Regions from separate parts of the Homo sapiens genome. Here all the other regions are linked to region 2. The links are contacts of gene promoters, found by promoter capture Hi-C in blood cells and fetal thymus (Javierre and others, 2016). All regions are on one chromosome and are shown on one strand. Each heading gives the region's core, a stretch centred on a gene start or on the middle of the fragment in contact. The rest is flanking DNA. Distances are from core to core; before and after follow the strand shown.

Region 1 (4,008 bases), core at 714-3,213, 5.2 Mb before region 2:
AAAATTCAGGATTAAAAAACTAAAATAGAGAAAGTAGCATGCTTTAAAAAACAGTACAGCCAGTACCTGACTTAGGATGGTTTGATTAACAATTTTTTGACTTTACATGGTGTGTATTCTACTGAATACATATTCAGAAGAAGCCATACTTTGAATTTTGATCTCTTCCCAGGCTAGTGATAGTTAGTAAAATAATTTCTCATGATGCTGGGCAGTGGCAGGGAGCAGCAGCTGCCAGTGAACCATGCACTCTCTGAGGGTAAACAACCAATACTCTATGGTGTAGTGTGTGCTACATGATTTTGCCCAACTGTAGGCTAAAGAAAGTGTTCTGAGCACAATTAAAGTAGGCTATGTTAAGCTATGATGTGCAGTAGGCTAGATGTATTAAGGCACTAATAATATTTTCAACTTAAAATGGGCTTATCAGAGATAATCCCATCACATGTCAAGGAGCTTCTGTATATAAATGCATATCCCCACATGACTGGAAGAGATCACCACAAATTTCAGTGTAGTTGGAAAGTGCATAGAAAAACCAGAGTGGTGATAAGAAAAAAGAGAAAAGGGCAAACAAGTGAATGGGGGAAAAAACAAGTTGGTATTTGTATGACTATTAAAGATAAATAGAAGATGGATTACAGACAATATTTTTAATAGGCTCATGGAATGATTAAAACATTAGATGTGAAGATAGGAAAACAGGAACATAAATCTCAGATAAGATAAAGACCTATAAGAGGTCTGAAAAAAGTTAGAAAGAACTGACACATAATGCTAAAAAACAAGAAAAACACAGCAACAAGTGCGGTGCCCGCAAAAAATATTTACCTCTTCCTCTTTCTCTCCTGCTTAGTGTACTGCCTTGCACAAACTCAACGAAAGTTCATCGATGATGACTATTGTCAAAATGGCAAAGCAGATAATAGACTGAGTTAAGACAACCAACAAAGGGAAAAATGAAAACCATTTCTAAAAGATGAGCTAGGATTATTCATTAGAGCTGATTCTCAATACTATCTAAAGCTTTATGTTAATCTGTCAAAAAAAAAAAAAAGAAGAAAGGAAGTTTCTTTCATCCTAGTCATTCACCTCTCCCTTCCTTCAAAACACTATTTAAAACTTAACATTTCATACATCTTCCTGGATTAGCTTCATCTTGATTCAAGGATTTTAATCATTCAAGTAATCTATTCTACGTATTAGTATACCTGCAAGTTATTAATTAATGTCACAGCACCTGGTATTTCCTCTGGCATAGTACTTCCTACAGTTATTTCAGTTCCTTTTTAAATGTCTGTTTACCCAGATAAACTAAGCTTTTGACAGGACTACAGTCAACTTTGTTTTGTGTCTCTTGTAACTAACGGAGTGTGGGGTACATAAGAGACACTCAACAAATATTTGTCGATTGAGTCAATAGGTGAATGAAGGCTGTATATATATCATTGACTTTTAAAAATCAAATAACTAGCTAGTTTTTGGTGGTTTTTCTATCTTCCCAGTAGATTATAAGTTGCTCTAGAGACAATCATTCAATTTTGGAACATAACCATCATATCCCATGGTACTTAAATACAGCTTAGTTCACTGGTATAAAAATCCTAAAATTCAGAAATAAAAATCAAGGAAATGAAGGAATAGTTGGTGATGGAACTACCAAAAGAGCCAAGTAAATATAATCCTGAATAGGAAATAATTAGCAGAAGTACACTATATGTATACATCTATATAATATAGATATAGATTTCCATTATTATCCATCAATGAGAAGCACAATTGACTAGTATGACATCAAATTAAGAATTTGTGAATGTCTGGTAGACGTTAGTTTACGGGCAGGCGTGTACCAAAGTGATAGATTTAATAACAATGTCATTTTTTCCTATCATCATGACAAAGGATCTTAAACTCCTGATGTATCTAGCTACATCTATAGCACTTGATCAATCATCTGGGAATCAAATATTTAATATACGCCTACCTTGGTTATGTTAGATGCTGATGACGCAAACTAAAGTTTTGCCTATCCTTTTAATTTATTCTGAAGTCCAACCAAATGTACAGTTCAACAAATATTTGGGTTTGATTTTATTTTTCCAATTCAATTGTTTCTTGCTGTCATTTGCTCTCTTTGGAAATTCCTAAAATACTGTTATGAATGTCCAACATTCTAATATATCAAATGTGCAACAAATATTATTAATTAATAATAACAACAATAGCTAACCTTTACTGAATACTTATTACTTTCAGGCACAACTATCTCATTTAATTCCCACAACAAATCTATGAGGGAAATACTATTATTACTCCCATATTACAGAGGAAGAAACCAAAGCAAAGAGATGAATTAAGTTCACATAGCCGTAAGAGGAAAAGCCTGGACTAAACACATATGTTCTGACTCTAGAGTTCATGCTTTTAACCATGATACTAACATAGTTTATATTTCCACTATGTAAGTTTCACATAAAATGGATAAATTGCCTTTTAAATATAAGATACTGAGAAACAAAACTATTAGAGCTATGTATCATTAGAACTCCAGAGAATGAGGCAAGATAGCTGGTTCTTAGTTTCTCTGGAGAGGTGTTCTTGCTCTCAGAAAGCTTGCAACCCAACTGGGGAATCAGAATATATTCTAAGGAAAACAATATACTGTGATATACAAAGGACTTGCTATGAAAGTTGAGGGGCGGCAGTAAGTTCTAAGGACCAGGCCATCATAAAAGGCTTGATGGAAGAGATAGGCCTTAAAGCAGGGATTACTCTGATAGGAGGAAGAAAAGAATTAGGGTGTTATAAGTAAGGAGAAGCATTTGAACACAATTATTGATGAAATGCTGTTACCAAAACACCAGGAGTTCCATCTATGTCTTGCTGCTTACCACCCAAAAAGTCAATCACTGAGACAATGATTATTGTCAAAGAAGAAGGCTTTAATCAGATGCTGCAGCCAAGGAGATGGGACATCAGTGTCAAATTCACCTTCCTCACTGACTAAAATTAGGGGTTTATATAACAGGGAAGAAATGTTAACTACGTATGAGAAAACAGGAACTAAGGAAGGGTAAGGAAACAATAACGAAGAATGAGGGGTCTGGCATATCACTGTCTAGATGCAGTAATCTGGTGAGTTTCAGCTCTTTGATACTTGTTGAGAGGTCTGGGCATCCTTTCTTGAGGAAGGAACTGAGATAAAGATCAACAAAATGTGGCTGGGCGCAGTGGCGCATGCCTGTAATCTCAGCACTTTGGGAGGCTGAGGCAGGCAGATTGCTTGAGCTCAAGAGTTCCAGACCAGCCTGGCCAACATGGTGAAACTCCATCTCTACAAAAAAAAATACAAACATTAGCCAGGCATAGTGGCATGCACCTGTGGTCCCAACTACTTGGGAATCTGAGGTGGGCAGATGACTTGAGCCTGGGAGGTAGAGGCTGCAGTGAGCTGAGATCATGCCACTGCACTCCAGACTGGACACCAGGGCAAGACTCTGTCTCAAACAAGCAAACAAAAAGATAAAACAAATGCAAGTTTCAAGCTTTCAGAAAAGAAGTGTCCATTTCTATGTTTATTAATTTAAAAAACCCCAATAAACAAAACTAAACAAACAAACAAAACCCTGTCTATGGGACTGTTGGGTTGATTTCAGTACCATGAAAAGATCCAATTGTTTAAATGTTTAATGTATGGAGATAATAGGGGAGGTTGGAAAAGTAAGGATCATATTGAAGAGGTAACTTGAATGCTAGGTTAAGGAGTTAGGACTTTATTCTCTAGACCTGCCCTGCTGGATACAGTAGCCACTAGTCACATGTGGCTACTGAGCATTTGAAATGTGCTAGTTCAAATTGAGGTGTGTTCGGGCACAATACATACCAGCTTTTGAAGACTTAGTAGGAGAAAAGAATGTAAAGTATCGCCTTAATAATTTTTAGATTAATTAATTTTGTAGCTTGCACTTACGGCTTACATTATATTTCTATTGGAAAGTACTGCTCTAT
Region 2 (3,770 bases), core at 1-2,500:
TCTGGGGTCTCCATCTCACGAATTTCTATCTTGTTGTCCTCTAAAGAGATGATGTTGCAGATCATTCTTTTTTGATTTTCAAGCTGATAGCCACCAACAATAACAAATTCATCATTGTTAGTTTGAGTCAGGATTGCACTGGAGACAGAGATTCCTCCTGGCAAGACTGTGCAATTCACAGCTGGGCTACCCAGGGGAAGATCAACCCTTATTCTGTACAGGTTGGCAGGCCGGATATTATTGGCAAGTGAATGTCCTCCTAAAATATAGATGGTGTCATTTTTGGCAATAGAGACATGAAAAGATAGCCCATCCTGAAGTTCTGGAAGAATGTATGATGTAGCACACCCAAATTCAAAATCCACCAGGAAAACACAGGGCAGGCAGTCAGCTACACTATTCCATTTTTCTGTGGTTCTGTGGGTAGAAGGCATGTATGAGCGTCCTCCAAAGAGAACACCCATACTTTTCCCTCGGCTGTACACCACATTAATGGAATGACCATATCTGGCTTCAGGAACATCTCCTACCAAGTCTTTCTCTGTGCAGCGAAAAGTAACCTTTTTGTTGTTCTTGCAAACAATAGACATGACATAAATCTTATCTGAAACCTCATTGTTTGGTGTTTTCCCTCCATGGATGATGTATTGATGCTTTTCAGACTCCAAGCTGCCTTTGAATGTGCAAGTGGCTGGGTAGCGAAGAGGAGGGAGGTAGCAGGAATCCTTAGAGAAAATTGTAGGCTTCAGTTTGACATGGTTATGCTTTACATCCAGATGGAAAACTCCAGTGGGGCAGGATCTTTTGGGCCAGCCTTTTTGTCCAAAGAAGAAAACTTGTCCATCAAAATTCATCAGTGAGAAGCCTGGCTGAATTAAGGCTATGTTATTACTGACTGTTACCATCTGCAGAGACATAGTTTCTGATGGTACGTAGATTTTTGTCTGAAAGAATTATAAAATAAAATGACTTAGAGATCGCTTCATATAATCATCGTATTTAGATTCCTTCACATGTGAATAGCATTTTTTTAAGTCCTCCCACACGCTTGCAGTGGGACTGAATGAGGAAAATCCAAGGAGTTAGGTCAGTAAAGAGCCACAGAACCTTTACTGCCATTCCATCCAAGGAGCTGGGACATGTTTTAGCCACGGACTATATGCTCCCTAGGATTTCTGGGAATTGTAGTCCTTTTCCGTAAAGAGTCACCATGCGTCAGCTGAAAGAACCACATTTCCCAAGAATCCGTTCTCTCTGGGATGTGTAGCTTTGGAAATCTGTCTTTGTTGCTCTGGGAGAGGGGACTCCTGGAATGTGTCTGTGAATAAAGACTAGCCGAAGGTGCGAAGTGACTAGACGGGAGCAAAGGAGGAAAACTAGGGAATGGGAGGTGAGAGTGGCTGACACCGACCCAACGTCCGGGTTGCCGGAAGGCTGCAGCGCCCGGAGCGGTGTCGGGCAAACCGCTACCCTGGTATTGCTGGAGCCTCTCCTGGGGACTTTTGAACAGGTGACCCGATAGGAAGCACAACTGCTTCTGTTGGAGTGCGGTTACCTGGAGACCGCAGTCTGAAGGGACTCCCGGCAGAGATGTCGTTACGGTGTCCTGCCTGTCTGGATGCTTAGGAGCGCGACTCAAAACTACACCCCTGACGACCCTGGAGGTGCTTGGGGCGGGAGGTTGAAGGGGGCACCGAGGTTACAAAAGCCGTGACTGTCTTACAGAACCGAAAGATGGATCTTTGAATCCCTAGAGTGCAGGGGAGACATTGCCTGTTAAAGATGTTTACCACTTCTACATTTAGTAATAGAAATACAGTTATTAGGTTTTAACGAGTGCACTTTGAAGGTCCTTTGTTTTCTTCACTGTTTTTACTCCTGTTTTTAGGGTTCTTTTAGGGAAGCAGAGAAGGTTCCTAAACACATCTTCTTTTCATCTTCATTCTAGGAAAATAGAGTTAGTGGCTTTTTCACATCTTTCCAGTCCAAGAACTTTTGGGTAATTCTTTAATAATTCTGTAGTAAGTAAGCAGGGACTAAGCATAGAAGTGTTTGAATTATTCAGAATTTCATACTTGTGTTACAACAAAAAGAATATTTACTAGATGAAGGAAGCTTGATAAATTTCTATTTTATTATTGTTTACCTTAGAGAGTTGTGGAATACACTCCGTGTTTGCAGTGTGATGTCCTGTGCACCAAATGTTAAAGGAAACAAAACATAGCACAGATTTCTTGACTTTTAAGAGTTAATTCTTAATATGCTTCAAAAGCAGTATAAACAATGGCTGAGTGTGGACTCTGAATGCTTACTGGCTGGATTCAAATCCTGGCTCTGCCACTAACTACATGACTTTGGGCAAGTTATGTAACCTCTGTGTGCCTCAGTTTCCTCATCTGAAAACTGAGATAATAATTTTACCAACCTCATATATTGATGTCAGTTATGATTAATAGTTGAATATACGTAAAGTACTTAGAACAGGGATTTGCATATAGTAGACGATAGTTATGATTATTTTAAAATTTACCAAAAATAAGGTCTAGTGCATACGCACCTGCCAGTAATGGCAGTTGATAAGGTTGGAGAGGATGAGAAGGGGCTTTAGGATATGGGAATCAGGTCAGTGGGTATAGACAGATAAACATTTGAACTAAAAGAATTGGATAAACATATATGATGAGGGTGCTGGTAGTAGTTAATTTATTAACAGAAGATAGTTAATATTTTATTCTTCTTGTCACCCTTTGTCTAACTGGGGATAATCTTGGTATATATTCACTGGGCTGTTTTGAGAAATAAATGGGATAGCACGTGTAAATCACATAGAACAGTGCCTGGCACATAAACACTCAATAAATGTTAATTGATACTATAATTTATCTAATTTATCTTTATTCCTCCTGCAAAGATTCCTTGGACTATTTAGAATCTCTGGTCACTCTAATGAGATGGTAGTGTTTTTTTTTTGTTTTTTTTTTTTTTTGCTTTAAAGAACTTCTGTAGATCAGCTGTAATTTACTGCTAAATAATCTCTTGTAGTTATTATTTTCAGTCTACTTGGGAGACTCGTAAGGGGGTGATCTTTCAACAATTATCTGGTGGGTTATTAAAGCAGGTGAGGAAATGGTGTCTCAGAAGGATTATTATCAAAGTTATGAAAACAAGCCTGTCTCCCTCAGTTGTATATTCAGCAAACTGCCCTGCTTATAAAATAATCTAGGCAGTGTTTTATTTATATCATGGCCTACCCAAGCCTACATGAGGGAAGGCATCTGAGCAACTATGAAAAATGCTATTCATAGAAACTAAAAGGAGACATTATTGACCCTCACTTCAGAAAACTGTAGGTGATTACACTCAGCCTGAGTGATTATGATCAGAGAGTTGTCCCATTTTGGGTGGGGGGAACACCAAAGCCAAGGCCTGCTTGTTTCAAACACCTGTGATGACTGTTATTGAGATACAAGGCAAGCCATACAGTGGTAATGGATTCCAGATCCAAAGGGATTTTTCAAGAACAGTTGTTTTAAAGCAATGTTTTTATTGTCGCCTCTTGGTTTCATTTTAAGGTTGCTGTAGGAATTGTGGCTTCTCGTAAGTGAAAACATGATTATTGTAGATTACACAGAAACATTTTCTTGGGCAAGACATAAGGAGGATTGTCCATTTTTGTAGCTTAGTCTAGGCCCCTAAAGATTTTTGAAACAGGGCTTTTGACCTGTTTTCCCTTTGATGCTCTGCTTTTGGCTCATTTCATAATTTCAAGG
Region 3 (4,281 bases), core at 1,522-4,021, 6.7 Mb after region 2:
GGTGTTGATGTGCTGCTCGCAGTCACCACTCTCTGCGCCATTGACTCTCGCCATGGGGGCTTTCTTACTCTCAGGCAGAAGGACTCAAAATGAATCCAGAATCTCTTTCTCTTTTATATGGCTCATCTCTGCTATAAGGGAATCACTCCCATCCCCTCGCTCCAGCAAAATCTGGGAACACGGTAGATCCCAACATGGCCACCTCCACTCTGCAGTCACGGGTAACCTGAGCTTATCAGGCGTGTCCAGTCCTTTGTGTTTCTCAACCACCTGGGACCATATTTCAGGCTCCTCAAAATGGCCCCACGCTTGAGGGAAGGGGGTAGAAATTGCCCTCAACCTACTCACAAGACATCTTTCTCAAAAACATAAAAATAAAAAAATCACCAATTCTCATTTTATTCTCTAATTCTTTTTCTTTTTCTCCACAAGAGTCCAAATTGCAATTTTTTTTTTTTTTTTTTTTTTGAGACAGAGTCTTGCTCTGTCACCCAGACTGGAGTGCAGTGGCACAATCTCGGCTCACTACAAGCTCCACCTCCCGGGTTCACGCCATTCTCCTGCCTCAGCCTCCCAAGTAGCTGGGACTACAGGCGCCCACCACCACACCCAGCTAATTTTTTGTATTTTTAGTAGAGACAGGGTTTCACCGTGTTAGCCAGGATGGTCTTGATCTCCTGACCTCGTGATCCGCCCGCCTCAGCCTCCCAAAGTGCTGGGATTACAGGCGTGAGCCACCGCGCCTGGCCTGCAATTTTTTTTAACATTGAATTTTACACTTGATTTCTTATTTTCAGACAGGGGTCGTGCTGTGTTGCCCAGGCTGGACTTGAACTCCTGGGCCCAAGTGGTTCTCCCCGCTTAGCTTCCCAAATAGCTGGGACTGTTGGCTATCACGCTCAGCTCTAATCCTTTTTAGGATGTGAGATTTATCCTCAATCTAACTGAGAAGTACAAGAGCCGGGGAGTTCTTTTGTAATCATTTCCCGTGTATGTTCTGTACAAGTGGATGTGGCTTTGAAATTTACAGTCTATTATAGTTTGATATTTCAATCCTGAAATGTTAACATCCTTTAACATCCTTTTACACATACACACATAACTTTGTTTTGTATGCTTTGTATGTTTTACATAATGGGATCATCTTATACCTGCCTTTTAACTTTTCTTTTTCTTTTTCTTTTTCTTTTTCTTTTAATTTTTTTGAGATAGAGTTTTGCTCTGTGGCCCAGGCTGGATTGCAGTGGCATGATCTGGGCTCACTGCAACCTCTGCCTCCTATGTGCATATAATTCTTCTGCCTCAGCCTCTCATGCAGCTGGGACTACAGGTGCATGCCACCACGCCTGGCTAATTTTTGTATTTTTAGTAGAGACAGGGTTTCACCATGTTGACCAGGCTGATCTTGAACTCCTGACCTCAAGTGATCCACCCAACTCAGCCTTCCAAAGTGCTGAGATTACAGGCGTTAGCCACCGCACACGGCTATATATATATATAATATTATTATATAAATATAATTATCTTAATATATAAATATATATTATTATCTTAATATATATAATATATATTATTATCTTAATATATATAATATATTATTATCTTAATATATATTATTATCTTAATATATAATTATATAATAATATACAATATATAATATATATTATATATATAATTGTATATATAATATAATATATAATATATATTATAATATTAATATCATAATATTATATATGATATATAAATATAATAATATATTAATATATATTAAGATAATAATATTAATATATTAATTATATAATTAATATATTATATATAATATAAGATAATTATAATATATAATTGATAATATTGATATATTAATTAATATTATATCTCAATATATAGATATATTATAATTATATTATATAATTAATGTATTAATTAATATTATTATCTTAATATATATTAATATAATATTATTATATTTATATTATATATTATATATTTATATATTAATATAATATTATTATATTTATATTATATATTATATATTTATATATTAATATATAATGTTATATATTATATAATATATAATATTATATATTAATATATAATATTATATATTATATAATATATAAAATTATTATATATTAATATATAATGTTATATATTATATAATATATAAAATATTATATATTATATCATATTATATATATAATTTCATTTAAACTTGTATCTTAGAAATTCTTATCAGTAAGCGTACGTGATTTCATTTATTTATTATTCTTTTGGATACTGGACATAATCAGGTGGCCCCAATTCTTTACACTGGCAGCAAAGATAAGCAAATTCTTCCAGCAGGCCAAATTTGACCCCGCACTTGATGAGCGTGGTGGACACAGAGGGTTTTTTAATAGCATAGGAATGTTTTTTGCTTCCCACCGGACCCACTAGCCTCTAGTGCCACCGATTAATATTACCTTCCTTGAATCAGGAGGAAACCATTTGTGACTTCTCATATGTAAGATCTTCTAAGGGCAGAAACGCAATTGTCTTTGTATTCACTTCCCCGCCCACCCACACCCCTTCCATGGAGAGCCTGCAGCCAAGCTCAAGCTTTCAAAAAGGCGTGAGCTAATTCAATCATCCTTGCCGCTTTTTTGCTCCTCCAGGCTGTAGAGGGCGACAAAAACCGCGGAGGCGCATTGGGGTGGGGGGTGTCTACTGAAGGCCGCTCCCGACGTGCGCGTCTTTACGTAGACGTCGGGGGCGCAGCCGCGCTGTGCGCGGTGACTGGCGGCTGCACTGGCGGCAGCTGGAGGTGTAATAGTGCGGGTAGTGGGTTTGGAGAAGTTCCGAGGCGGCGGTGGCGCCGGTCAGGACAAGGATAGCGGAACCGGGCCCTGGGCTTGTCGCTCACCATGCCGACAGTAGAGGAGCTTTACCGCAATTATGGCATCCTGGCCGATGCCACGGAGCAAGTGGGCCAGGTGAGTTGAGTCCCCGGGCGGCCTGCAGGGCCTGGCGCTCCGCGGCCTTTCGAAAGCGCTTCCCGCCGCACTCCCCGGGCCGAGCGGGGGCTGCGGCTTCATCCTCCCGGGGCCTCCTAGCCTCCTCAGGCCGTCTCGTCGGGGTGGGCCTCTCTGGGAGTGTAGACTCTGGTTTCACCAGGGAGACCGCGGTCCCCAGGGTTCCAGGCTTCCTTGCCTCCCTTGCCCAGCCTTTTCTCACCGTGGCGTAACCTAACTCAGCCCGTTCAGGCTCACGTTAATTCTTCTCACGGAGCTTTTCTCTACAGGATTCTCTTAAGCCTTTCTCCTTTTCGGTGGAGCTCAGTGCTTCCAAGATTAGATCGGGAGTTTTCTTCATGAGGTCAAGATGTGTTTTTTTTGGGGGGGAGGCAAAATTCTGCTACTAATTGAAGAAGAGTGTTTAGGAGACAGAAGTTTGTGAGAAACAGAAGAGGGACTCTTTGGTCCAGACTTTGATGAGAGCTCACGGTTTCATTTATTCAGTGCATTTTTTTGAGTGCCGAGCGCTGGAGATACAGATGGAAAGGTCCGCGCTCTCCCAGAATGTACAGTTAGGAGGGAGTGTAGTAAGAAAGATAGGCATTGTGAGGCCCGGCTTGGTGGCTCACGCCTGTAATCCGAGCACTTTGGGAGGCCGAGGCGGGCGGATCACGAGGTCAGGAGTTCGAGACCAGCCTGACCCACATGGTGAAACCCTGTCTCTACTAAAAATACAAAAATTAGCCGGGCGTGGTGACACGCGCTTGTAATCCTAGCTACTCAGGAGGCTGAGGTGGGAGGATTGCTTGAACCCGGGAGGCAGAGGTTGCGGTGAGCCGAGATCGCTTCACTGCACTCCAGCCTGGGAGACAAAGCAAGACCCCGTCTCAAAAAAAAAAAAAAAGGTTTTTTTTAAAAATTTATTCTTTTTAATGAAACATGTTTGAAGAAAATAAAACAGGGCTGGGCGAAGGAGAGTGTGAGTGCGCAGCTCTGAATGGAGTTGTCTGGAAGAGCTCTCTTAACGATGCTTGCCCCCGATACACAGTTTCTCAGCAGTGTTGAATTATCCATACAAGTCATTTGTTCCCTGTATGAGTTTTCAAGTACTGGAGTACATTGAACTTGATAAGTGGTTGGGTATGTGTGTTCTTGGGAAAAGAACCAGGCTCTCCTGGAGGTAACCTTGATCATTGTTTTAGAAATCCCACACCATAGCTTTTCAGCGCTTAGAACTTTGTGATTTTTCTGCTTACGCATCCCTTCTTGGAGAAAGTGGAAGATTCTA

Evidence for each region. The method cuts DNA at HindIII sites, captures the fragments that hold promoters and counts their contacts. A CHiCAGO score of 5 or more calls a contact.
Region 1: a contact is called between a fragment that was not itself captured here and the fragment with the promoter of IFTAP in region 2, in 1 of 17 cell types (monocytes). The highest score is 5.8, in monocytes.
Region 3: a contact is called between the fragment with the promoter of API5 here and the fragment with the promoter of IFTAP in region 2, in 1 of 17 cell types (erythroblasts). The highest score is 5.3, in erythroblasts.

Annotation. Positions count from the first base shown.
Region 1 is chr11:31,363,795-31,367,802 of GRCh38, forward strand. All of the region lies in intron 1 of DCDC1 (doublecortin domain containing 1), which reads right to left. Among named protein-coding and RNA genes, the nearest start is that of DCDC1, 3.9 kb to the right of the region's middle. The HindIII fragment of the contact is 1,293 bases long and covers 1,318-2,610 here.
Region 2 is chr11:36,593,252-36,597,021 of GRCh38, forward strand. It overlaps IFTAP (intraflagellar transport associated protein), which reads left to right and starts at 1,251. Exons shown (of 6, transcript NM_138787.4): 1 at 1,251-1,341. It overlaps RAG2 (recombination activating 2), which reads right to left. Exons shown (of 2, transcript NM_000536.4): 2 at 1-944. The coding sequence starts at 917. RefSeq lists an enhancer at 1,158-1,297. The HindIII fragment of the contact is 5,310 bases long and covers 1-2,113 here.
Region 3 is chr11:43,309,225-43,313,505 of GRCh38, forward strand. API5 (apoptosis inhibitor 5) reads left to right here and starts at 2,772. Exons shown (of 14, transcript NM_001142930.2): 1 at 2,772-2,972. The coding sequence starts at 2,904. RefSeq lists an enhancer at 2,525-3,300. The HindIII fragment of the contact is 11,672 bases long and covers 2,597-4,281 here.